4 separate regions of the Homo sapiens genome follow, and regions 1, 2 and 4 are each linked to region 3. Evidence: promoter capture Hi-C in 16 types of primary human blood cells and fetal thymus (Javierre and others, 2016). All regions are on one chromosome and are shown on one strand. Each heading gives the region's core, a stretch centred on a gene start or on the middle of the fragment in contact. The rest is flanking DNA. Distances are from core to core; before and after follow the strand shown.

Region 1 (7,154 bases), core at 1,623-4,122, 250 kb after region 3:
TTCACTCTGTATCATCTTGCCTCACATAGAACACAATCCTATTCTAATCTCCTTACATGTATGCCTCAATTCCCTTTCCTGCCAAGTTTGCTGTGTCTGTCTCCCTTCATGAGAGCAGGAGCCTTATCTAATGTTCTTGACTTTTAGAAGCTAGCGCATGTTTGCCTGGCCTACATAAAGTACACCCGGAATATTGAGAGAGATGGGATTGGCAGATGAGTGGATGGGTATGAGTGAATTGTTTAGTTTTACTCTAGTCAGATGTAAATCAGACTGTAATCTAAGCTTAATCTTCTCAATATGCTTAAACTCTGATTTAATATGCTTAGCTCTAGGGATGCCGTAGTAGTCTAACAAAAATTGATCTTTACAAAAAGCCTATATTAATGAATGTTTGTGGGCTTCTTTATAGATCCAACACATGTACCGCTGTGCTCGAGTCCAGGGCCTAGATACCAGTGAGGGGCTCCTTCTTTTTGGTAAAGAGCATTTTTATGTGATTGATGGATTTACCATGACAGCAACCAGGGAAATAAGAGATATTGAAACCTTACCTCCAAAGTAAGTAAATGAATGAAGAGACATAATGTATGGCTATCTTTAGAAGACAGAAAATGTATTTGCAGTTTTCTTTTTTAATCAAAAAATTGTGTTCTAGGTAATGTTATCTCTCGGTTTGTGTGCATTCATCATTACATATTCACAAAGATGATATTCAGTTATTTTAAGGTAATAATGAAAATGTTTGGCTTATTTATCAAGATGAAAGCTAAATAACATTTATTTCTGTGCATTCTGAGTTATTTATATTATAATGTATATATTTACAAATTTATTCTGAATTTATAAATGGTCCTTTTAAAAAATATAGCAGATATACAATTGTAGAGAAAATACTCTTTTTTTTTTTTTTTTTTTTTTTTTTGAGACAGTGTCTCACTCTGTCACCCCGGCTGGAGTGCAGTGAGTGGCAGTGGCGCAATCTCGGCTCACTGCAAGCTCCGCCTCCCGGGTTCATGCCATTCTCCTGCCTCAGCCTCCCGAGTAGCTGGGACTACAGGCGCCCGCCACCACGCCAGGCTAATTTTTTGTATTTTTAGTAGAGACAGAGTTTCACCATGTTAGCCAGGATGGTCTCAATCTCCTGACCTTGTGATCCGCCCGCCTCGGCCTCCCAAAGTGTTGGGATTACAGGCGTGAAGAATACTCTTAAAAATGAAAGAGCATCATCAGGTACTCGGAGCACCCTAGAAACAGCATGACTAAAGCATTAGCAGAGATTTACTGACTGAGTTGTAGGCATCTTCCTTTTCTTCTACCAGTCCTGTGATGAAAGTGGTAGTGAGTAGTGGAAAACTCAGGAGACAGACCAACCTAGAAGAAAGTTAAGAAGCTTAGGGCTTAGAAGATCAACAGGCTGCTTCTCTTCCTTTAACATTTTCCTAGCACCCTTGAACACAGACATTGTTTCTGTAGTTCATTCCTAGGAGATATTTCAAATAATTACTGTCAACAACAATCAGGGTCACATGAAGTCTTTCGTGGGTCCTTTTTCCATACAAAAATATTTAAAATTGTATGTTGTGGCTAATGGTATAAATATAATCTTATATTAAAATGTGTTTTTCTACCTAAAAGTTGATTTTTTTTCTGATTTTTAAAAGAAATTAAGACATTTTCTTGGGCCCCAAAATATGTGAGCTGAGGCACTGTGCTAACCATGTCTGGTAGATAACTTGGTCCTGACAGTAATAAGGGGATTTTTAAAATTATATTCATCAAAGGGGGTTCCTTGTATCTCAGGTAGCTAACAAATTCTTCTTGTAAATATATTTTTTAACTGAAAATTCTGATATATATTACTCCTCCATCCTGTTCATGTGTTTAAAATTAGCACGCCCTTTATGGAACAGTGAATTTATCCCTTGCTGTGTTTTTATTTGCTTTTTCTCTTGGCTGCCTGTAGTATGCATGAGCCTATTATTCCTAGAGGAGCCAGGCAAGGCCCTAGTCAACTCAAGAGAACATGCAGCATTTTTGCATATGAAGATATCAAGGAAGTTCATAAAAGGAGATATCTCCTGCAGGTGAGTCAATTTAGTAGTACTGTTTTATCATGTTTCTTTATTCTGAAAATGTATTGTTTTATTTTATTTTATTTTTTATTTTTTATTTTTATTTTTTGAGACAGAGTCTCACTCTGTCGCCCAGGCTGGAGTGCAGTGGCATGATCTCAGCTCACTGCAACCTCCGCCTCCCGGGTTCACACCATTCTCCTGCCTTAGCCTCCCAAGTAGCTGGGACTATAGGCGCCCGCCACCACGCCAGGCTAATTTTTTTGTATTTTTTTAGTAGAGACGGGGTTTCCTTGTGTCAGCCAGGATGGTCTCGATCTCCTGACCTCATGATCCGCCCGCCTTGGCCTCCCAAAGTGCTGGGATTACAGGCGTGAGCCACCGCGCCCGGCCGAAAATGTATTATTTTAAAATTGATACATGCCATGGAAACCCTCAATAGGATCTGCATTTTTTTTTTTTTTTTTTTGAGATGGAGTCTTGCTCTGTCACCCAGGCTAGAGTGCAGTGGCACGATCTAGGCTCACTGCATGCTCCACCTCCCTGGTTCACACCATTCTCCTGCCTCAGCCTCCTGCATAGCTGGGACTAGAGGCGCCTGCCACCACGCCCAGCTAATTTTTTTCTGTTTTTTAGTAGAGACGGGGTTTCACCATGTTAGCCAGGATGGTCTTGATCTCCTGACCTCGTGATCCGCCTGCCTCGGCCTCCCAAAGTGCTGGGATTACAGGCGTGAGCCACCGTGGCTGGCCAGGATCTGCATTTAGAATAATCCTTAGATATGGTTATAGACAGACTCAGGTCATGTGGATGCATAATTTTGTATAATGCATTTCTCTTGTTTAAACACAGCCTAAAATTTGGGTAATTATCTTTGTTATCCATCTTTCCCTGTAGCTATCCAAATCAACATTTTAGTTTTCTTCTAATATAAAAATTACATCCTTACTATAATTTTATAAAATTATAATTATAAAATTATAATTACTTTTTTTATTCTGTTACTAAAGACTTTAGAAATAAATTGAGCAGAATAAGAAATATCTATTTATTGTGTAGCTTAATCTGCAGGGAATTCATGACTCTAAAAGTGTTAGCAAATTAACTTCTTTTTTTTTTTTTTTTTTTTTTCTGAGACAGAGTCTCGCTCTGTTGCCCAGGCTGGAGTGCAGTGGCGCGATCTTGGCTCACTGCAAGCCCTGCCTCCTGGGATCATGCCATTCTCCTGCCTCAGCCTCCCGAGTAGCTGGGACTACAGGTACCCGCCACCAAGGCCGGCTAATTTTTTGTATTTTTTAGTAGAGACGGGGTTTCACTGTGTTAGCCAGGATGGTCTCGATCTCCTGACCTTGTGATCCACCCGCCTTGGCCTCCCAAAGTGCTGGGATTACAGGCATGAGCCACCGCGCCCGGCCGCAGATTAACTTCTTGAACATTGTAGAAATTTATAGTGGAAAAGTTAATATATAATTTTATTTGTGAACTTCTGTTTTTTCTTAATGTTTTTCTCTCTGATCATTTCAGCCTATTGCTGTGGAAGTTTTCTCTGGAGATGGACGGAATTACCTCCTTGCTTTTCAGAAAGGAATCAGAAACAAAGTCTATCAAAGGTCTTGTTTATTCGGAACACTTTGTATACTATTATGGGAAGATATGGGAGGGGGAATCTTTTCTCAGTTTTGCTGGTTTTTAAAAATCTAGATCAATGAGCCAACATCTTTGAAGAAAATAATTTATATTATTTTTGCCACCCTCTTGAAACAATTATTCTTCTGACTTTTAAAATGGTGCAATTCTATTGTGACATACCATTTTTCCTTCTGGTAACTTATAGTAGAGATCATCAAAAACTACTTTTATCACTAAGTCCTGTGTCTCTAAATACAAAGGATGATGAAACTGTAGCTTTAAAAATAAAACTTTAGTTTCTTTTTTTCTTCTTCTTTTTTTTTTTTTTTGAGACGGAGTCTCGTTCTGTCGCCCAGGCTAGAGTACAGTGGCATGATCTCAGCTCACTGCAAACTCCGCCTCCCGGGTTCACGCCATTCTCCTGCCTCAGCCTCCCGAGTAGCTGGAACTGCAGGCACCCGCCACCATCCCCGGCTTATTTTTTGTATTTTTAGTACAGATGGAGTTTCACCGTGTTAGCCAGGATGGTCTCGATCTCTTGACCTTGTGATCTGCCCACCTCGGCCTCCCAAAGTGCTAGGATTACAGGCGTGAGCCACCCACCGTGCCCGGCCAAAAATAAAACTTTAGTTTCAAAATAAGCTTTCTTTGTATTTACCAAAATGAAGCCAATGCAGTTTCTTGCTATTGAATGCAAGGACTGAGTAAATTTAATTCATGTGGGACTTTTCTCTGGCCATGGAAGGGATGTTGGATACCTTCATCCTTGAAAAAGTAGTATAGCTAAATAAAGCAGTTAATCTAATCTAAGCATATTTTTATCTTTAATAAACTATATTTAAAATTTACCTTTTAAGTGAAAAACAGGCCAAGCCGTGCAATGGCTCACGCTCATATTCTTAGCACTTTGTGAGGCCAAGGAGGGAGGATCACTTTGGTCTAGGAGTTAAAGACCAGCCTGGGGAACATAGTGAGACCCTGTCTCTATAAAAAAGAAAATAATTAGCCGGGCATGGTGGCACATGCCTGTAATGGCAGGTTGAGGTGGGAGGATTGCTTAAGCCCAGGAGGTCAAGGTTGTAGTAAGCCACGATCACACCACTGCACTCTAGCCTGAGTGAGCAAGGCACTGTTTCAAAAAATAATAATGATTTTTTTTTTTTTTAGACAAAGTCTTGCTCTGTCACCAGGCTGGAGTGCAGTGGCGCAATCTCGGCTCACTGCAACTTCCACCTCCCAGGTTCAAGCAATTTTCCTGCCTCAGCCTCCCAATTAGCTGGGATATCAAGGTGCACCACCACACCCAGCTAATTTTTGTATTTTTAGTAGAGATGGAGTTTCACCATGTTGGCCAGGATGGTCTCGATCTCCTGACCTCATGATCTGCCCGCCTCGGCCTCCCAAAGTGTTGAGATTACAGGCGTGAGCCACCACACACAGCCTATAAATTTTTTAAAAAAGGAAAAACAACACACATCTCTGGTACTTAAAAGATAATTCTTTTGAATGTGTGAATAATAAGGCTATTCTGAACTAACCATGTAGATGAGAGGCATTCTCTTGTTCTTTGAAGGGTGATACAGATCCTGGCAATCCCTCCATTATAGAAAATTTTATATTTCAGATTATTTCCATGAGGAATAACTAAACCATCCAACATTGCTTCTCATTGCAGTACAGTAATATTACCCGTGAGCACCTGGGAAATGAGGGTGGTTCTTCAAATAAAGGGCCTGTGGATGTTGATTGGTAACCCAAAACTCCTTTCACATATGGGAAGAGCTAAGTAAAGTGATTGAGATTCACTTTTACTTATCTGATTTTTTTAATTTCTAAAGGTGCTATTGTTTTCAGTGCTAAGAAATTATTTCCTCTTTAGAGAAGTCCAAAATTTATATATTCCTTTTGCCTGCCATTTAGTGGGTTATGGGAGGGTAGACGCAACTATGAAAATCTAAACGAATCGTCCTTTCTTAGGCTTCCCATTAGATCCTGACTGAGACTTCACTTGTAATTTTACGCTATTTTAAATTTTTCAGGTTTTTGGCTGTAGTGCCATCTCTAACGGACAGTTCAGAATCTGTATCTGGGCAACGACCAAACACGAGTGTGGAGCAGGGGTAGGTGGTTTGTTCCTTGCATGTTACAGTTTAATAGTGAAGTTGGGATGATTCATATCTGGACAGTATTATTTAACATTTTAGATGAGTGTTTTTCCCCTGGTGGTTGCAAATTTTTTTAAAAAAATACTGAAAACTAAAGGAAGAAAAGAAAAAGGTATGCATAAGCACTGTGTCAAATCACTGCTCACATTTTGATCAATTACCTTCTGTTCTTTAAAGCATGAGTATTGCTGTGTGCATGATTGAGTTTATACTCTAAATACAAGTTTTTATTCTGCTTCTTCTATTCAGTGTTATATTTAAATATTCCCTCTCATCTTTAAAAAACTATTCAGAAACATAACTATTATTCGCTATCTATTCATCACATATATAAAACATCATGTAATTTTTGGATATTTCATCTTTATCAGGTTTTTGCTTTTTTTTAATTATTGTTAAGAGATGGAGTCTCGCTCTGTCACCCAGGCTGGAGTGTAATGGCACGTCTTGGCTCACTGCAACCTCCTGGGTTCATGGCGATTCTCCTGCCTCAGCCTCCCGAGTAGCTGGGATAATAGGTGCCTGCCACCACACCTGGCTAATTTTTGTATTTTTAGTAGAGACAGGGTTTTGCCACGTTGGTCAGGCTGGTCTCAAACTACTGATCTCAGGTGATCTGTCCACCTCGGCCTCCCAAAGTGCTGGGATTACAGGCGTGAGCCACTGTGCCTGGCATTTATCAGGTTTTCTTATCATAAGACTGGAAATGTGATTCTTCTTTTTTTTTTTTTTTTTTTTTTAATTTTTTTCTTTTGAGACAGTTTCCTTCTGTCACCCAGGCTGGAGTGCAATGGTGTGATCTTGGCTCACTGCAACCTCTGCCTCCTGGGCTCAAGCGATTCTCAGCATCAGGCTGAGCACTTCCCAGCCTGAGGCTGATTCAAGCCTCAGTCTCCCAAGTAGCTGGGATTACAAGCATGTGCTACCATGCCTGTCTAATTGTTGTATTTTTAGTAGAGAAGGGGTTTCTCCATGTTGGCGTGGGTGGTCTCAAACTCCTGGCCTCAAGTGATCCACCCATCTTGGCCCCTCAAAGCGCTGGGATTGCAGGCATGAGTCACCATGCCCGGCTATGATTCTTCATTATTTTATTGTGGTAGAGTCCCCTTAATAAAACAAAGAGTAGGAATTTTAAGGCTCTTGATACACAAAACCAGCTTGATATTCATAAAAACTATACAAGTTTATATTGTACTATTAGTGGATAAGTTTGTCTCAATAGATACTTGCTAACTTTGTATATTATTATTATTTTTTTTTTTTGAGACGGAGTCTTGCTCTGTTG
Region 2 (6,463 bases), core at 3,964-6,463, 230 kb after region 3:
TAGCCCTCATATCATTCATTAGATGATATTGATGTGTCTCATGGGTTCTGAAATCCATAATAGTAAGAGCTTTGTATCTTTTAACTTAGCACCTGCATACTTAGCATGGCATCTGGTATATAATAGACCTAATAAAAGTTCATGTATGAATGATTAACAGGTGTTTTACTTTTGTCTATTATACTAAAAACATACCTTTCATGTCTTTAGTCAAAGAGAAGATCACAGGGATTGTCACTGGATGCAGTGTATCATTGCCTCAATAGGACCATCTTGTACCAGTTCTCACGGGCACACAAAACCGTTCCTCAGCAAGTAGCTCTGCTTGATTCACTCAGGGTCCTCACTGTAAACAGAAACTTGATCCTGGGACCTGGGAACCATGACCAAGAATTCATTAGCTGTCTGGCCCACTGCTTGATAAATCTACATGTTGGAAGGTAAATCCTTTAGGTTCAGTTTGCCATGTTAAATTTGGCTTTGATGTTATTCCAACAAAATTCTTTATTTTTTTTGATAGTAACATTTCTTTTACCCTTACTCTGTTTTATTTAAACCTTTATGTAAAAAGGTAAAGGGCAAGTGTTGAATTTTTGCAGTGAAATAATGGGTATTTTTTTTTCCTTTAACTTAGTTTTCTACACCTTTAAAATTTTCCATTATCACCATATGTCACTTATATAAGGAAGTTTGCTTTTAAAGCAAATAAAATATATACCATTGAAATCTAAGAGAAGTAAAAAGTGAAGCTCAATGCAGTGTTATATGTTAAATGAGTAAAATTAGTATTTTTCAGTTGATTGCTTTGACAGATATTTCATTAGAGTCTGCCGGGGCCAAGCATTGAATTAGGGGCTGGGACAAAATGTGAGTATGATAGACCCTGTGGCAGCCTTCTTGAGGGGAAACAGCTAAGCAAGACCAGTCAGCTGTATTGAGTGATCTGCTAGGAACAACCCAGTGCTTTGGAGGCACATAAGAGGGGCCCCTAACCTGAAAGAAATACCTGCTGAGCTGCAGCTTGAGACCTGGTTGGGGAGGACAAGAGAATGGAGACAACTGCTACTGGAGGAAAGAACAGTCTGTATGAATGCCCAGAGGGAAGAAGGAGTGTGGCACCTCAGGGGAACTGCAACTACTTCACTACAGGAGCAGAGTAGTGAGATATAAGACTGGAGAGAGGACACAGGCATATTAGAAAAATGTTCTTAGTTGAATGAACATTTTGTAATTATTAGGTAAAAATGTTCACAATAATCAAAAGGCATGTTAAATATTAAGGTAATAATCTTGATGCTATAGATCAGTCTAATTACATTTAGTCAGGTGGATTTATTTGATCACCTCTTAAAAATGGCATCTTCCTGGCAAACTAGAATTCTGTTCTGTGCATCTGCTGAGTAGACATTCAGTGTCTGCTGGTAATGGAAATAGAGTAATTCTTAGTTACTGTAGTCTTCAGCTAATCATTTCCTTCATAAAGTTTAAACTGACTGGAATTTTTCAGCAACGTGGATGGATTTGGACTGGAAGCAGAAGCCCGCATGACCACATGGCACATTATGATCCCCTCGGACATTGAACCAGATGGTAGTTACAGCCAAGATATTAGTGAAGGTAATTGCCTTGACTTGGGATGTTTTTAAATTGTGGTTGTTTTATCTCCAGTTTTTAAGACATAACCAACAAATTGGCTTCAGAAACTGCCAGCATTGATAGCAACTCTCCCAGTAGGGCAACCTATACATAAAGAGTCTCCTCATGCCAATAACAGTAAAGCACTAACCAGTAATATTGCTAAGCTCATCATTTCTTAGTAACACTGTGAGATTTGGTGGTGGTATTAATATTTACATTTGCTTAAGTAGAAGTACAAATACTACCTTGGAATTAACTATAAAGAGAACTGCCCAATGATAATGCCAGGCATATCACATTAGAGTAGGCTAATATTGCTTGAGACAGGTTATCAATAGTGCTATTTTTTATTCTTCTTTATACTCTCTCTCTTTTTTTTTTTTTTTTTAAACAAAATCTTGCTCAGTTGCCCACAGTGGAGTGCAGTGGCACTATTTCAGCTCACTACAACCTTTACCTTTCGGGTTCAAGTGATTCTCATGTCTCAGCCTCCTAAATAGCTGGGACTACAGGTGCACATCACCACGCCTGGCTTAATTTTTTTTTGTATTTTTAGTAGAGACAGGATTTCACCGTGTTGGCCAGACTGGTCTCAACCTCCTGACCTGAAGTGATCCACCGGCCTTGGCCTCCCAAAGTGCTGGGATTACAGCTGTGAGCTACCATGCCCAGCCCCTCTCTTTTTTTTTTCAATCTGGTTTTCCCACTAATCCTGTAAGGATTGCATATTGAAGTCTTTGTATGGATTGATTTCTTATTTCCACATGTTTAGTGATAAAGAGAAATCACTCTGGTGGTGTTTGTCTCCCCAGAAATACTGTGCGATAGTTTTACATATGGTTTCATTGTTGAGAAGCCCAGCACTCATTTTAATTTCATTCCTTCATTTAAACATGAATTTATTCTCTGTTCTTTCACCAAAATGTTTTGAACCCTAAACACCAAAGATGCGGTTATTATTTTCACCCCCTGAGGAAGTGGCGTTGGTTCTCATAGCAAGGTCCTCAGAATAGCAACATCAATATCATTTGGGAACTTGGTAGAAAAGCAGATTCTGTTGCCCTACTCTGACCTACTGAATCAGAAACCCTGAGGTGAGGGACTAGCAGCTTGTTATCACAGGCCCTCAGGTGATTGCTGAGGGCCGACTGGTCTGGAGGAGGAGTCAGGCATACAAACAAGGAATCCAAAGCAAGAATGAATTTCATAGTAAAAGTCTTTTCAAAATATTTCTTTTCTTGTGCAAAATATTCAAGAATACTAACTTAGTTTTGAACTCACCTTAAACATTCAGATTTAAAAATTACTTTTAAATGGGGGATAAGTTTTTAATCTAGAAAAAGTTAGTTAATTACATATATATAATTTCCAATTTTATAAATAAAAATGTTCTTTTGTATGAATATAAAGTTTTTTTAATGTTTTCTAAATAGGCAACCACAGTTTCAGTTGTCTAAATAACCTTTTCACTGGGCTAGATACAACATGAGCTTTGTTTTTTTTACATTAAATACTGTAGTCGAAATTCCCACATGTAAACATGAAGAAAAATAAAAACTAACTTTATACTGTGTTTTGATCATTTGCTTACTTTTTTGTTTGTTTGTTTGTTTGTTTACTAGGGCGTCAGCTTCTCATAAAAGCTGTCAACAGAGTTTGGACTGAACTGATACATAGTAAGAAACAAGTCTTAGAGGAACTTTTCAAAGTAACTCTACCTGTGAATGAAAGGGGCCACGTGGACATAGCTACAGCAAGGCCACTCATTGAAGAAGCTGCCCTGAAGTGCTGGCAGAATCATTTGGGTAAGGCCTACAGAGATCATACCACCAGGAGATTTACATGTGGCTATCATATATGGGTATACTTTAAATATGTGACTACAGCATTCACAAAAGGATTCTATAAAGTCATCCTTAAAATCAATATAACAACCATTCTAGAATGATTATACTGAGATCTTAGTTCTCTTTGATTTTTTTTTTTTTTTTTTTAGCATCTGAGGTATGTTATACATCAGGCGTTTATGCATTCAGAATGTAATGCATTGCTAACAGCTCTAGTATTGTCACTGTCTTGGCTACAGGTCCACAATCCCTTAACTATAATTTTGAAATTCAAAAAGCTCTGTTTTTTCATTAATTTGGTGCCAAAACTGACTTTATAACAGAACCTAATTTATCTTTCTTTGTCCTACTTGGTATGGGAATATTCATACATTTTGTTGCAGTAATATTGACGTATTAAATTATAGCTTATTACCATAGATTCTCTGGTGGCATTATATAATCTAGTGTATAAGCTGTATAGCCTTTTAAAAATCCAAATAGTTTCTAAGTTGCGAAGTATACCCAACACCAAAGGTTTTAATTAGGTGATTATGAATTATTAATATAGAAACTCGTTATAGTTAAATTTGCATGTTATTACAGAGCTGTGAACTTTCAACCAACTATCAGTTCAGCTAATACAATTTGCGAGCAGTCATCCTTAAGATTACCAATAAATAAATTTGTGATATCTGAATGTAATATCTGCATCTGTAATATGTGCTACTTTTGTTAACTACAGGGTTGTAGTTTATAACCAGATAAGTTTTTAAAGTAAGACTCATAAATACATGGAGAAATTATAAAATAATCTAATTTGATTTTTTAATAGCCCATGAAAAGAAATGCATAAGTCGAGGAGAAGCTTTAGCGCCCACCACACAGTCCAAATTATCCCGTGTCAGCAGTGGCTTTGGTCTTTCCAAGTTAACAGGATCAAGAAGGAATCGAAAAGAAAGTGGTCTTAATAAACACAGTCTTTCCACCCAGGTACTTTTTTAGTTTCATTGCTGATATTAGTTGTAGTATTTTGTATAATATACTTAACATGTACAAGCAATTGATTGGAAATGAAACTTTTCTGTATTTTTGCTTTAGAATAGAGATAGAAGTAATCCAGACTATGGGAATTTCTCTCATTTTCTTATGATAAAACTATATATGAGTGCTATTTACTTATACCCATTTTATAACTGGATATAAGATGAGATTTAGAGATTAATGTATGATCAGACTATAGATAATTTTCTCTCAATTTTCCCAGCTTTCAATAATGTTATTACTAATAATTATATAAATTTTAAGGCAATAGCCAAACAAGCCTTTTTTAATTTTTACAATCTTGTTGTGTATACCTATGGTTTTTTAAAAGCTCATCTGCCTCCAGCATTAACTTCTTCCTCATCCTACTTCCTTCACCATCCCAGAATCTAAGTGGCAGCTATGAAAAGGATCTGAGAGAAATAGTATGTGTCAGCCATCTCATGCATCAGGTTAGGTTTTCTAGGAAGCAAACTCTGAGATGGAGTTTAGTGTGCATAATGTATATTAGGGGGTGCCCTTGGGATCAATACCTGTGGAAGGGAGAAGAAAGCAGGATTGGACATAGGGAAAAGTCAGGCTGCAGTGCTGGTCTAGTGACAGCCTCAGCCAAGCTAAGTGGAGCTTTGAGGACAGAATACCCTCTTATAATTGACCTCCATTAAGCTGAAATGTGTGAGTCTTCTTACCCCTAGATCGTTGGATGTGGGGCACCCCGTCGGCCCTCTGCAGCTAAGGCCATCCCTGAGGGTGTTGAGAGCAGCCCAGACACGTGGGCAGCAAGCCCTTCCTTGAAGGGGCTTTGGGGGTGGGAGAGCATGCAGATCTGTGTCCATCACACAAGCATATAATTCATTCTGAATTTTTTGTTTTAGTTTTCTGTTTTGGTGCTTTTGGCAGAATTTTAACCAATTATTTAGCATTAATTTCAAGGGTAATTAACTATTTTTTTCCAGAAATCCATGAAATATTAAGACTCTTTTTCCATCCATTGTTAGGAGATTTCGCAGTGGATGTTTACTCACATTGCTGTTGTTCGTGACTTAGTAGATACACAATATAAAGAATATCAGGAGGTAAGGACTTATAATCATCATAATGGTTTGTTTTACATTTTTTGTATGTGAAAGGTCTCTGTTTGTCCTGGTATCTTTCTGCCCATTTTAAGGTACTTGCTGGACTGCATTCGTCATCAGATGATGGTTTTAATTATTCCTGCCATCAGCTACTTTGGCTACTGATTTTAGGATGGAAAATTTTAATCTTCTGTCAACAAACTGCATTTCAAAAAGCAACTAACTGAAAATGAGCCCAGCTGAATTCTGTTGACATTCACTACTGATATGTTACATGTCTTTGTTCCTAATAAAAATAAAAATGTAAGAATGAGCCTTCTTTTTCAGGCTTTTAACAAGGAGATTGTGAAAATACGCATCCAAGTCTCTGAGAAGTCTCTTAAAATTGTAAAAAATTACAAGATTGAATGAAATTATTTTTTACTATACTACAAGTGCTTGGTGATTATGTCAGTGAAAAATAAATTTATTGAAATTCTCTTGGTAAATTCATAATTACTCAAAAGCTTATCTTAAATATTTTATTCTCAGATTAGCTATTTTGGATCTATTAAAGGTTTCTGAATGGTTAACTGCTAATATTTTACGGATATAACACTAGATCCTTAGTTTCCCCAACCAAAGAACATATCAGTACTACTGTGATAGATAATTTTTTAATTGTTCACTCAGTAATCTTTACTGTCAGTTATATTTTAGAAATCTTTATTTTTAGATTTAAATTGTATATACTTATATTCCATGAATCATTGGGCAAGTTATTTGTCACTGTCTACTGTTGAAATGTTATATATTTGTCATTTGATAGATAAGAACTTGTACTGTGTCATAATTTCCATTTAAAAAATGGTTTGGATCTATCCCAGTGGCCAGAAGAAA
Region 3 (7,021 bases), core at 175-2,674:
GTCCTTTCAGAAACTGGGACTGAGGAGGGTGAGCGCCGCGGAGAGGGGCAGGGGTGGGAGAGGAGAGAGGGGCGCGGGGCGGGGAAGAGGCGCGTCTGGAAGGCAGTGGGGAGAGGGACTGAGAGGAGTGGGGTTGAAGTCCAGCTGGGAGCATCCAGCGGCGCTGTCTGCAGACAGGGGCGAAGGCAGCCGCTGAGAGTGAGGCAAGAGCGGGAAGCCGAGGGAAGGGAAGGAAGTAAGGAAAGAGGAAGGAAAGGCAGGAGGGGGTAGAAGCTGAGCGGCTGCAATTTCTGCGGCCGGCTCAGTAGGAGGAGCAGGAGGGGAAAGAGGAGGATCCAGTCAGTCAGTCAGACAGCCAGCGGGAGGTGGAGAAAGCAGGAGGAGGAGGAGGATTAAAGATGGCCACCAACAGCTGCGGGAAACGGCAACAACCCCTCACTTTCCGGGATGGTCCCTGCGGGTCGGCCCGGCCTTGATGGAGAGAAGAAACCCGAGGAGCGCCGAGGCTGAGGCGGCGGCGGCGGGGACCCAGCGAGGACGAGGACGCGGCGGAGCAGGGACGGGGGCAGGAGAAGGGAAAGGCGGCGGCGTCGCTGCCCCTGCTGCCTAGCACCGCTGCCTGGCCCGGCGGACCGGTTCCCATACCTCGCGGCCGCAGAATCGAGCTCGGGCCCCGGCCCCCGGCCCGCGGCGCGGGGCTCCCGGGCCCCGCCGCGGACGTCGCGCCGGTCGCCCCTTCCCCGTAGCCCGTGCGCCCTCGGCGCGGAGCCCCGGCCCGCCGCGGTCCCGTCTCCTGGGCCTGTCCCGCCCGCGCCCTCCGCCGGCCCTCAGGTGAGTACCCCCGCCATCCTCCCCGCCCCCCGCGCTCCCGGAGAGGCGGTGCTGCCTCGGCCCGGCGCGCCTGGCCGCTTTGTTCGTGCGGGGCGGAGGCGCTGCCCACTCGCGGCCCTGCGCCCGCTCCCCCTAGGGACAGGCCGCGGCCCAGCTGCTGTCCTCCCCAGGGTCCGCCTTGGCCGGGAGCCGCCGCCGCCGCCAGGGTGGGCGGCCTGGCCCTAGTCCTCCGCTGCCTCCTGGGGAGGGCGCCGTCGCGGACGGGTCGGGGTCGGGGTCACGGGCGGCGAGCGGAGCGGAGCGGAACCGGGATATTTCGGGGGATAGGGGAGGAGAGGGCTGGACGTTACCTGTGGGAAGCAGTGGGGGCGTAGGCGGCCCTGGCTCGCAGGGGTAGGGGATCAGGCCCTGGCCCCCCCCCGCTGCATCCTGCGGGGTCTCAGCTCCCGGAGCCACCCGGACCTGAGCGCAGCCGAGCGCGGCCTCCATCCCTCGGGCGCTGTCTCCAGGGCTTCGGGCCTCTCCCCCTACGCCCTACGCTGGAAGCCCTTCGATTATGGAAGGAGCCAGAGATGCTCCAGTTCTCTTGTACTGGGGATGTGGTGGCATCGCAAACATTCACAGTTACGGCGGGATTTAAGAAGCAGATGAGACCTTTCCAACCAAAGGCCATCTGGCTAGTGTTTGAGCCTCAGGTGCAGTTTTTCATTGATTTTTACCATTTAATTGTGAGATCTGCAATATCAGGTCTTCCTTTCACAGAAACAATGTGATACAACCAGATTGAAAGGATATTTACTGCATATGTGAACCCTTGCATGGACTTCCAGTACCTTAAAAATGGTTAAGTGTTTTCTGTTGGAAAATGGTGCTCATGCATACGAAAAACTATTTTTGTTCAGTAATGGTTGCCAACTGGTTTACTATGTAGTTTGAACACCAAACAATTAAAAAGGAAAAACAAAACCCTATTCTTCGGGCTTTTTAAATAGTGGCATATTTCCAGGTTGGTATTTGGTAGCAGGTTGAGAACAACTGGTTTCGACTATCAGGCGACGTAACAAACATAACATAAAACAGAACTAAAAATGTGCTAATTTATAGAAAAACATGTTGTATTAGTGCATAAGTCTAGTAAAAAAATCCGACTTTAAAAAAAATAAAACTTTATCATGAGACTCTTAAGTATAGGAATTAGGTTGGTATGTTTTTATGTTTAAAAATATATATTGCATTAGAATTGAGAACTCTTCCTATGATATTTGAGCAATAGTAAAGTATGTTAATACTTTGAACCATTCTATCTCAAGCTGCTAGAAAGAGGTTTCTACTGCTAGTTTCTTTCCATGAGTTAAAATGGATTCATCTGAAATATATGTATGCTTTTGGTGGGTCACAGTGGGTCATGCCTGTCATTCCAGCACTTTGGGAGGCCAAGGCTGGGGGATCACTTGAGGCCAGGAGTTAGAGACCAGCCTGGGCAACAAAGAGAAAACAATTTTTGTAAAGAAAAAAAAAAATGTTTCAAAAAATTTGTATCACCTCCAAAAAGGAGGGATAAGTTAGAAAATACAATGTTCTACTCTTGCATAATCTGTTTTTGAAAAAGTAAATGACAGTATATTTCAATATTAGTTGGATTCTCTGCTTTGAAGAGATTCTTAAATTCCACTGCTCAACTTTGCAATTTTAAAAGTTTACATCAGTTGTTCTTAATTTATTTATTTATTTCTTTTTTTAGAGACAGGGTCTTGCCCTGTTGCCCAGGCTGGGGTGTAGTGGCACGATCACGGTTCACTGCAGCCTTGAACTTCTGGGCCCGAGTGATCCTTCTCCCACAGCCTCCCAAGAAGTTAGGACTACATGTGCATGCCACCATGCCTGTCTAATTTTTCTATTTTTTGTAGAGATGAGGGTCTCCCTGTGTTGCTCAGGCTGATCTTGAACTCCTGGCCTCAAGTGATCCTCCTGCCTTAGCCTCTCTAAGTGCTGGGATTACAGATGTGAGCCACCATGCCCTGCTTCTTTCTTAATTTCATGCATATACTTCTGAGGGTCCTTGGCTTCCCAGAAATCATATGCAGAATATAGCATATATTTGCTTTTTTCCTAGATAAAGACTCTGTTGGGTGATCACATTCTCAAAAGGATATGGGTCTGTAAAAGATTATGAACTTCTAGATATAAAATTAAAGAATACATATTCCATATTTGGAAAGCTAAAATTTTTAAATTACATTTGATGATTTATGTCCTTCATTTCTGATTATGCCCAAGAAATGTTTGTGATTAAGAGTTCAGCACATAGACGTTGTTTCTAACACATTCTCATTTAAATCGAAGGAAAATATTAATCCCATTTTACAGATGGGGAAATAGAACAAGTTGTTTTAAAGTCATACAAACACTGGTGGGCCAACATGTGAACCCAGACTGTCTGAAGTTAGAGCCAGCATTCATAAACAGGGTATACTAGACTTTGATCGGTAATACCATTTGATTGATGTTAAAATAAGTAATTGATGTTTTAGTTAGAATTGCAAAGTATATCTGAGATTATCATAGCATACAATATCATAAGATTTTAGAGCCCTGGACCCCCAGTATGAAGAGATCTTAATGATACTAACCTCTGTTAATGATGCTAGTCTGAAATCACACCCGAACTAGGGTCATTTCTACAGCATCTTTGGCAGGATCATCCACCTCTGATTTTAGTATTTCCTGTGATTACGAATTTCCCCTCTTCTTTTTTTTTTCTTGACCTTTTTTTTTTTTTCTTTTGAGATGGAGTCTTGCTGTGTTGCCCAGGCTGGAGTGCAGTGGCATCATCTGGGCTCACTGCAACTTCTGCCTCCCGGGTTTCGAGAGATTCTCGTGCCTCAGCCACCCAAGTAGCTGGGACTATAGACCCTCGCCACCACGCCTGGCTAATTTTTGTATTTTTAGTGGAGACGGGGTTTTACCCTGTTGGCCAAGCTAGTCTTGAACTCCTGAGCTCAAGTGGTCTGCCTGCCTCTGTCTCCCAAAATGCTGGTATTACAGGCGTGAGCCACCGTGCCAGGCCGTTTTTTTTTTTTTGTTTTTTTGTTTGTTTGTTTTTACATTTTAAATCTATATTTCTATTTATGTCGAGTCAAAATCTGCCTTCCTGATATTTACACTGATAAATCCAGTTCCCCCTTGGTGTGTGTGGTGTATTTATCATCCATGAAATGATTAAGAAATAAATGGCGACCGGGCATGGTGGCTCACACCTGTAATCCCAGCACTTTGGGAGGCCGAGGCAGATGAATCACCTGAGGTCAGGAGTTCAAGACCAGCCTGGCCAATATGGTGAATCCCCGTGTCTACTAAAAATACAAAAATTAGCTTGGCCTGGTGGTGTGCACCTGTAGTCCCAGATGCTCGGGAGGCTGAGGCAGGAGAATCGCTTGAACTGGGGAGGTGGAGGTTGCAGTGAGCTGAGATGGCGCCACCGCACTCCAACCTGGGTGACAGAGTGAGACTCCATCTCAAAAAAAAAAAAAAAAGAAATGGCTCCTACTTTAATTTTTTAGAGTAATGTTTATTGAAGCATAATTTACATGTAGTGAAAGTAAAAGTTTAACAAATGTCTATAATTGGATAGTCTCCACCACAGTCAAGACATAGAAAAGGACGTTTCCGTTACTCTAAAAAGTTCACTCATGCCCTGTCATGAGTCAGTCCTCTACCTCTACACTCCCAGCCCCTGAAAACCGTTAATTTAATTGATGCTCTTAAAGTTTTATCTCGTCTGGCATATATAAATGGAATTATACATTATGTAGCCTTTCGTGTTCCCTTGCACTTAGCGTAATGCTTGATATTTATTAAGTTGTTACATGTGTCAGTATTTTGTTCAGTGATGTGCTGGGAAATGTCTTAACAACATACTCTTCAGAAAAAAAAAAAGAATCTCTGATTTATAGCATTCGCTAATCATTGTAGTGTAAACACTGTCACTATGGCCTAAATTAAGCTACCAGCTTACAGAATTCCTGAAAATTTAACAATGGGCTCCCATGAGCTGGTACCAGCCAGCTCCAGCACAGTTCCTTTTTTTGTTGAGTAACATTGTTTTACACCAGGGTAACACAATTTGTTCATCCATTCATAAACTGATGGACATTTGAGTTGTTTCTAGTTTTGATCAAATATGAATAAAGCTGCTATAAACATTTGCATACAGGTCTATGTGAGGGACAAAAATGTTCAGTTTTCTTGAGTTAATACCTAGGAGTGGGATTTTTGAGTCCTAGGATAAGTGTATATTTATTAATATCAGTAACCTTTTTATTGAACTACTGAATTGTTTTCCTAAATGGTGATATCATTTTACATTCCTACAGCAATATCTGAGAGTTTCAGTTGCTTTACATCTTTATCAGCACTTGGTATTGTCAGTTATTAAAACTTTAGCCATTTATTATATGTGTAGTGATCTCCTTTAAATTTTTTTACTCTTATTTTCAGTAGTGTTTAGACTCAGTATAGAAAGTTTATGATAGATATTTATAAAAAAATAATTTTCTTTAGCTTGGGCATCAGTTATGATCTCACTATGAAGGCTGCAGCCTTTAAAGGCTGTTTGTTGAGTTTTTACTGTGCACTCATCTTTCATGTTGTTAAAATTACTTTTTGTAAAGGAATAATCATTAGGGAATTATTCTAATGCTTAGCTGTTAGCAATTTAAAAAATGAACCATTTTAAACAGGTAGATAAAGCTTTGTTTAGAAAATTAGAATTAAAAAATTTATCATAAAGAATTTTTTTTTTCAATTTTACTTGGACTTAAAGGGAAAAAAAGATTCTTTGTGGCTCCCTGTATGCCAACAATTTGCTTTGATGGGATTTCACCAAGTTCTGTAAACTCATTGAATTGTTCTTTATTTTAAAATCTTGAGGACTGTCAAGTTAGTTACTACTCTTTCTGAAACCACAGTATCAAAATCTTTTTTTTTTTTTTTTGAGACAGAGTCTTGCTTTTGTCACCCAGGCTGGAGTGCAGTGGCATGATCTCAGCTCACTGCAGCCTCCACCTCTCGGGTTCAAGCGATTCTCCTGCCTCAGCCACCCGAGTAGCTGGAATTACAGGCATCCGCCACCACGCCCGGCTAATTTTTGCATTTTTAGTAGAGACAGGGTTTCACCATGTTAGCCAGGCTGGTCTCGAATTCCTGACCTTGTGATCCGCCCGCCTCGGCCTCCCAAAAGTGCTGGGATTACTGTGCCTGGCCAAAATCTGTCTTTGAAATTTCACGTAGTTTTAGTGTGGACAAAGGATTAAATTACACATAGCTCATATCAACATTTAATTTTCAGTAGTAGAATACTGGGTTGCCCCGTTGGAATAAGATATCATTCATTCAGAAGATGATATGAAATAAAACCCTTAGAAGAGTAACCTGCCAGTTGCAGTGGCTCATATCTGTAATCCCAGCACTTTGGGAGGCCAAGGTGGGTGGATTGCTTGAGCTCAGAAATTCGAGACCAGCCTGGGCAACATAGTGAGACCCCTTCTTTTTTTTAAAATAAGAAGAGTACCTTGTAAAATACATAGTCATGTTAGACTGTAAATAAGAATAGCTATATTCACAGTTTGAGTACCCCGTAATAATGAAAGATGTTTGTTTAAACATCTCAACAGTTCTCACGGAAAATAGATAATTTGTTCAGTCATTGATTCATACATTTGTTCGTATACATACACGAATGTCTTGTGCATGTAGTATTCAAGGTCCTTATCATGATAGAGCTTACAGTTGAGTGGAAGAGACTGTTGAATAGGGTATCACATACGTGAGGTGTGGATGCTGTAGGTAGGTACATATGGTGTGGAGGTGGGGTGGGCATGGAACTCAGACTTCAAAGTTTGGAAGGACTTCCAGGAGGAAGCATTGTCTTCATTGAGAAATCTGGAGGTTGAGTAGTTAGGGGAAGTGGCTGTGTAGCATTAATAGAATGTGCAGTTATCCAGAGATGAGAGAAAATGCAAATAGCAAACATATCAGGAATATTATTTTCAAATAACAGGCCTCTAAAGCCTACATTTATTGCCCCTACCCAATCTCAGTTGAAATTAGGAAGGTTAATGGGAAGTAAAACTAGGGTAAAAACCAAAAAAACAAACATTTACTATACTATTGAGGTATTTTTTGGTAGTTT
Region 4 (6,464 bases), core at 2,580-5,079, 190 kb after region 3:
ATATATAGTATTTATAGCATTCTTTATTCCTTTGTGTAAATCTCCATTTCCATCTTGTGTAATTTTTCTGCCTGGAGATTTTTTTTTAACATTTCTGTATTACAGAAATATTGGCAGTGAATTCTGTCATCTGGAAAAGTCTTCCATTTCTTTCTTCCTTTTTGAAGGACATTTTTGCATGGAATAGAGTTCTAGTTGACTGTTTTTATTGTTTTCACACATTAAAGATGTCAGTCATTTCATTGTCCCCTTTGTCCACTTAATGTTTCTTCTGCTTGGGTTTATTGATCTGTGAGTTTGTCATTTTCATCACATTTGAATTTTTTAGCCATTATTTCTTCAATGATTTTTCCTGCCACTCCCTTCCCTTTTCTGGACACCAATGACACATATCTTAGATTGCTTGATACTGTCTCAAATCACTCATACACTAAATCTGGTCATTTCTTTTTAGTATTTTTTTCTTATGCTTCATTCTGAATAATTTCTATTGTTATGTCTTCAAGTTTATTGAATTTTTTTTCGGAAGTATCTCATCTACTATTAATGCCGTCCAGTATATTTTTCATTTTAAATATTTTATTTGTCATGTCTAGAGGTTCATTAGGGGGCTTTGGTTGTCTTTCATTTGGCTCCTCGTCATGTGCATGTTTTTCAATACATTCTTTAGCATATGGAGGGTATTTGAACTAGCTTTGTAAAAGTGTGATAATTCCATCATTTTGGTCATTTTTTTGGCCAATTTATAATGATTTTTTTTCTGCATATAAGTGGTTTTATAGAACTTTACAAGATAATAATTATATAAGTGAAATAAGTTCCATGTGCTGTATTGGTGTTTGTTGGTTTGGCATTTGGGCATTTTTTTTAACCTTAAATATACTACTGTTTTTATTTATTATAGGTCTGGCTCCATGCACCATATGAACTTCATCTTTCCTTATTTGAACACTTTATTGAACTGCTCACAGAGTCCAGGTATTAATTAATACCCACGTAGTTAATTATTCAGCTATAGAAAAGGTGATAGTACAGTGTATAAAATCTTCTTTCTCTTATAGTGAAGCCTCAAAGAATGCCAAATTAATGAGAGAATTCCAGTTAATCCCAAAGCTGCTCCTGACTCTTCGAGATATGTCTTTATCCCAGCCTACTATTGCTGCTATTAGTAATGTCCTGAGCTTCTTACTGCAAGGTTTTCCTAGCAGCAATGATCTGCTCAGGTAGGAAAAACTTCTTTGTCTTTGTCTTTTTATTAACTAAAAGTACCAATGAGGTTAAGATGGATGAGATGAATTTAATTGGTTTTTATGACTGTGTAATAACACCTGTAATGTTAATACGATTCAAAATATTTATGACGCATGGAAAACATGAATGAGACAATATCTTGCCTTGATGGAGCAAAGCTAATTGTTGCCACTAGTGAATAGTAGAATATTGGTGAGAAAAGATGTAGGAATTAGCCCAATGAAATTGGCCTGGATATAAAGTATTCAGTCTAGGAATTCTTGGTTCCCAATCCTATTTCCCAAGCCCTGCTAATTTTTAAATGTATGTGCACAAGCACGCATACACACTCCTAAATAGTGGGTGTGCCACCGCTATTTTTTATTCTCTGTCATTCAAACAGATTATGGTATTTTAAATCTGTTGCATATCCACACTTTTTGTATGATATAAGTATTATTTTGCAGACAATGCAAAATGCGGTTTAAGGCATATTGAAGGCATGTCTGTAGAAATGTTCTTATGTTCACATGATAATCCCCATTTTGGAAAATTTGGGGATTATAGAAGGAAAACAAGAAAAACAAACTACACAATTGAATATTTTTCAAGTAGAGAATTGCTTAAACTGGACTTGGTCACTACTGTTCGTTCATGTGATCTACCAAGTATCTCAGGTGAAATCACACCCATTTATTCAGTTATTCTCATGGACTAACCTCTAATCTGTATAGTTTGTAAGTCACTCACTTTTTTATTAATTTGCCTTCAAAACATATTTTTAAACCTGGGGGGCCGGGTGCAGTGGCTCACGCCTATAATCCCAGCACTTTGGGAGGCTGAGGCAGGCGGATCATGAGGTCAGGAGTTCAAGACCAGCCTGCCCAACATGGTGAAACCCCATCTCTACTAAAAATAGGAACAATTAGCCAGGCATGGTGGTGGGCACCTGTAATCCCAGCTACTTGGGAGGCTGAGGCAGGAGAATCACTTGAACCCGGGAGGCGGAGGTTGCAGTGAGCCAAGATCGCACCACTGCACTCCAGCCTGGGTGACAAGGGTGAAACTCCGTCTCAAACAAACAAACAAAAAATCTGGTGGCAGATCTAAAACTTTAGCTTAAGAATTATTTTGGAGAATTAATTATAATTATCATTATGTCAAGAATGTATATTTAAAGCAATTCCTAGCATTGTAATGGTCACTTTGCTGAAATTATTCCCTAAACCTGTAAAAGTTTTTGTTTTTTTCCCTACTTTATAAATGAAGAAACAAAGCCCCAGGTCACGTAATTCGAATGTGATACAGTCAGGATGTTTTTTCTTCTCCTGTTCCCCCTACTCCAGGAATTTAATCATATATGTAAACCCAAGTTCTTAACTGCTAGGCTACAGTGGATCCATCCAGATAATGTTAGGACATTCGAATATGGATCATGTTGTTTGGTTTTTGAAACCATTTGCATGTTAGTGCATTAAAGAATTCATATTTCGAAGAACTGTATTTTCCCCATATTTTAAAAGCATTATTTTATATAATGTTACTTGGGATGGTCCAAGAGGAAGCAAACTAAATATTATCACCTAATGGTCCTTAAAAGGCTAGTTAAGATAAGAAGTACAAAGACATGCCCCCACACTACTCTTATCTTTCTCGCTGGTGGTATGCTGTGAAGGACTGAGTGGGCAACAAGGAAACTAAAATCTCCAGATGATCAGAACATGCATTTCTTTCTGCAAGTGAATAAAATGAAATGAGATTATGAAAAAAAAAAAAAGTACTGTTTTGGTTTTTATTCTTTGTATTTTGTTTCTTTGTACTTTGTTGTTTGTTTTGGGAAGAGGAAAAAGAAAATCCATAATCTTGTTTTCCTTTGTTTAAAGATTTGGGCAGTTTATTTCTTCTACTTTGCCAACCTTTGCGGTTTGTGAGAAATTTGTAGTAATGGAAATAAATAATGAAGAGAAGCTTGACACTGGTAAGTTGATTCTGGAGCTTGGAGAAGATAGTGGTCAACTAAATATTATGCCTTTTTTCTTCTGGCCCAAATTAGACCTGAATTACATGTGATTATATATAATATATGTATAACTTTTCTCCTTACATTACGTTTTTGGCCCTTCTCTGATGTATTTGTCTTATATTAAGCCTATACAGTATTGCCTACAAAATTTAATAGGGTGTGAATTTTACTTCAAAAATAAAATATTTCCTATTTTTAGAGTATTCATAGCAATGTTTCTTTAAATAGCAAACTCTTCCTGTGTGATTTGAACATTATTTGATTTTTTAAATGTATGTATATCTCTTCAGAAACATGATACTTGCTAAACTAAATTATATCCATATATCTGTATTACTATTATTTTCACTTCCCTGTTAAATATTTAGTAGTCACTGAGAAAAATAACATAGTATCACTTTATGTAAGTATAATATAAAAATAATTTCATAAGTTGTAAGTTCCTGGGTCCATGACAAGTACTTTTTTTGGAAACCTTTCCTCATTTAGTACATATATATCCTCCCTCTGTTCCCATATGTTTTTCTTGTTGTATATGCTAGGACAGGAGAGTTGCTTGGAATGCATTGAAAGGACCTTTTTTTAGGTTGACCTCTGGAATTAAATTCTCAGAATCTTATATTTGTTCAGCCTTATTTACATTATTACCCTATTATATTATTCCCAAATCATATCATATAGATTATTTAAGTCCATACAACCCCATCTACCTGGAGGGTGGAGAAGAACTGTTGTAGTATCACTTCCTCCCAAAGGGGTTCTCCATGATGTCTGTCCTTCCCGAGCACAGCCTCTCCTGTGCTTCATGAGTAGGAGAAAGTGGTGTGATTACAATTTTCAAAGGAGAGATGGAGAGATTTGAAAAACTAAGTGACTTGCTGCAAATCACACAGTATGTTAGTGACAGGTTCAGGACCCTGACAGTTACCTACTGCCAATTCATTTAGAATGATGCTGATATTTCTCTGGTGAAGCAAATTAGCAGTGGATGAGAAGTATAAAGATCAGATCAATGAATAACACTTATTGAATACTTACTAAGTGCTCTATATAATTTTGTAATAACCATATGAAATAGGTACTATTATTCCAATTATACAAGGGAGGAAACTGCAGCCCAAAAAGATACAAGTAAAAGAAATTTATCCAATATCATACCATTGACTATATAGGAACCCAGGTAGTCTAAACAAGCATTCTAAGCTTTTAACTACTACATTTTCCTACGAAATGCAAAGATTATTTCTAAGTTCTAAATTAATATAGGCTGACTAATTATAATTAGGTAGTGAAAGTGCTTTAAAGATTGCTGAAATATGTAATGCATTTATTTCAAGTATAAAAAATATGTGGGCTGAACATGGTGGCTTACACCTGTAATCCCAACACTTCGGGAGGCTGAAGCAGGTAAATTGCTTGAGTCCAGGAATTCAAGACCAGACTGGGCAACATGGCAAAGCTCCGTCTCTACAAAAAATACAAAAATTAACCAGGTGTGTTGGTGTGCACCTATAGACCCAGCTACTCAGAAGGCTGCAGTGGGAGGATCACTTGAGCCTGAGGAGGCTGAGGCTGTAGTGAATTGTAATTGTGCCACTGACCTTCAACCTGGGTGACAAGAGTGAGACTCTGTCTCTAAAAACAAACAAAAAAAGGTGGGAAAAATATTTATCTGGTTTCCATATTTATTTGCTGTCCATTGAATTCAGTAACCATAGTAGTGTTGTAAATTTTTCTTTCATATAGAACATTGAAGTAGGGATGTATAAATTAGTAAATTTTTCTTTTGATATGCCAAGTTGATTAGACTGATACTCTCATCAGCTTATTGTCATTTGAAATAATAAAGTCAGAAGCAAATTGCTAGTCTTGTTAGTGTATGACATTTATTATTTATTTGATATGCACTGAAGACTTTATTGAGTATAATGTTCTAAAAAATGAAAACTGTGGCAGTAAGAAAAGGAGACATAAAAGTTAAATAAAATTTTTAATTTCTGTCTAGATTATTACTTTATTGTAGAAAAATTTAAAGGAAGTAGCTCTTAGAGTAAGTTTTGTGATATTCTTTTGATAAGGCAATTTTCAAATTACCAGTCTCTGTCTTCTTAGAAGAGGTGAGGATCTTGGGTTCTTCTTGGTAGCTTGAAGTATCCATAATGATTAAGGTACTAAGTTAGCATTTTAAAGGACAGTTTACAGGTACATTGTTCCAAACAAGTAGAAGTATATAACCATGAAACTTTAGCCTGAGCGTTAGTTCTAGAAAGAAGGAAAGTATAGGAATACCTCAGAAATATTGCAGGTTTAGTTCCACACCACTGCAAATGAAGCTAACATCACAATAAAGTGAGTCACATAAATTTTTTGGTTTCCCAGTGCTGTAAAAGTTATGTTTACACTATACTGTAGTCTACTATCTGTGCAGTAGCATTGTATCTTTTAAAAAATGTATATAACTCGGCCGGGCGCGGTGGCTCACACCTGTAATCCCAGCACTTTGGGAGGCTGAGGAGGGCGGATCATGAGGTCAGGAGTTCGAGACCATCCTGGCTAACATGGTGAAACCCGTCTCTACTAAAAATACAAAAAAATTAGCCAGGCGTGGTGGTGGGCGCCTGTGGTCCCAGCTACTCAGGAGGCTGAGGCAGGAGAATGGCTTGAACCTGGGAGGCAGAGCTTGCAGTGAGCAGAGATCACGCCACTGCACTCCAGCCTGCGTGACAGAGTGAGACTCCGTCTCAAAAAAAAAAAAAGTATATAACTCAGTTTAAAAGTTTTTTATTGCTAAAAAATGATAACAATCATCTGAGCCTTCAGCAAATTGTAATTTTTTCTGGTGGAGGGTGTTTTCTGGATATTGTTGGCTGCTGATTGACCAGGGTGGTGGTTGCTGAAGGTTGAGGTGGCTGTGGCAATTTCTTAAAATAAGACAACAATGGTTTCAGGTGATGGACATGCTAATTATTCTGATTTGGTCATTACATATGGTACACATGTATTGAAATATCATACTGTTCCCCATGAATGCATACAATTATATGTCAATTAAAAAAATAATAAAAGCAGGCCGGGCGCGGTGGCTCATGCCTGTAATCCCAGCACTTTGGGAGGCCAAGGCGGGTGGATCACGAGGTCAGGAGATCGAGACCATCCTGGCTAACATGGTGAAACCCCGTCTCTACTAAAAAAATACACACAAAAAAAATTA

Evidence for each region. Contacts are between HindIII fragments. The CHiCAGO score rates a contact against its expected background, and 5 or more counts as called.
Region 1: a fragment that was not itself captured here is called in contact with the fragment with the promoter of WDFY3-AS2 in region 3 in 1 of 17 cell types (erythroblasts); the score reaches 5.2 in erythroblasts.
Region 2: a contact is called between a fragment that was not itself captured here and the fragment with the promoter of WDFY3-AS2 in region 3, in 5 of 17 cell types (endothelial precursors, M0 macrophages, M1 macrophages and 2 more). The highest score is 9.9, in endothelial precursors.
Region 4: a contact is called between a fragment that was not itself captured here and the fragment with the promoter of WDFY3-AS2 in region 3, in 5 of 17 cell types (endothelial precursors, M2 macrophages, erythroblasts and 2 more). The highest score is 12.0, in endothelial precursors.

The regions. Positions count from the first base shown.
Region 1 is chr4:84,711,829-84,718,982 of GRCh38, reverse strand. It overlaps WDFY3 (WD repeat and FYVE domain containing 3), which reads left to right. Exons shown (of 68, transcript NM_014991.6): 48 at 413-561; 49 at 1,967-2,087; 50 at 3,600-3,685; 51 at 5,744-5,824. Among named protein-coding and RNA genes, the nearest start is that of WDFY3-AS1, 81 kb to the left of the region's middle. The HindIII fragment of the contact is 2,953 bases long and covers 1,396-4,348 here.
Region 2 is chr4:84,734,164-84,740,626 of GRCh38, reverse strand. WDFY3 (WD repeat and FYVE domain containing 3) reads left to right here. Exons shown (of 68, transcript NM_014991.6): 39 at 211-440; 40 at 1,508-1,617; 41 at 3,261-3,443; 42 at 4,300-4,457; 43 at 5,507-5,584. Among named protein-coding and RNA genes, the nearest start is that of WDFY3-AS1, 59 kb to the left of the region's middle. The HindIII fragment of the contact is 1,758 bases long and covers 4,335-6,092 here.
Region 3 is chr4:84,960,019-84,967,039 of GRCh38, reverse strand. WDFY3-AS2 (WDFY3 antisense RNA 2) reads right to left here and starts at 1,424. Exons shown (of 4, transcript NR_152775.1): 1 at 1,182-1,424. It overlaps WDFY3 (WD repeat and FYVE domain containing 3), which reads left to right and starts at 350. Exons shown (of 68, transcript NM_014991.6): 1 at 350-831. The HindIII fragment of the contact is 8,814 bases long and covers 1-5,582 here.
Region 4 is chr4:84,769,579-84,776,042 of GRCh38, reverse strand. It overlaps WDFY3 (WD repeat and FYVE domain containing 3), which reads left to right. Exons shown (of 68, transcript NM_014991.6): 28 at 905-978; 29 at 1,062-1,223; 30 at 3,114-3,208. Among named protein-coding and RNA genes, the nearest start is that of WDFY3-AS1, 24 kb to the left of the region's middle. The HindIII fragment of the contact is 1,258 bases long and covers 3,201-4,458 here.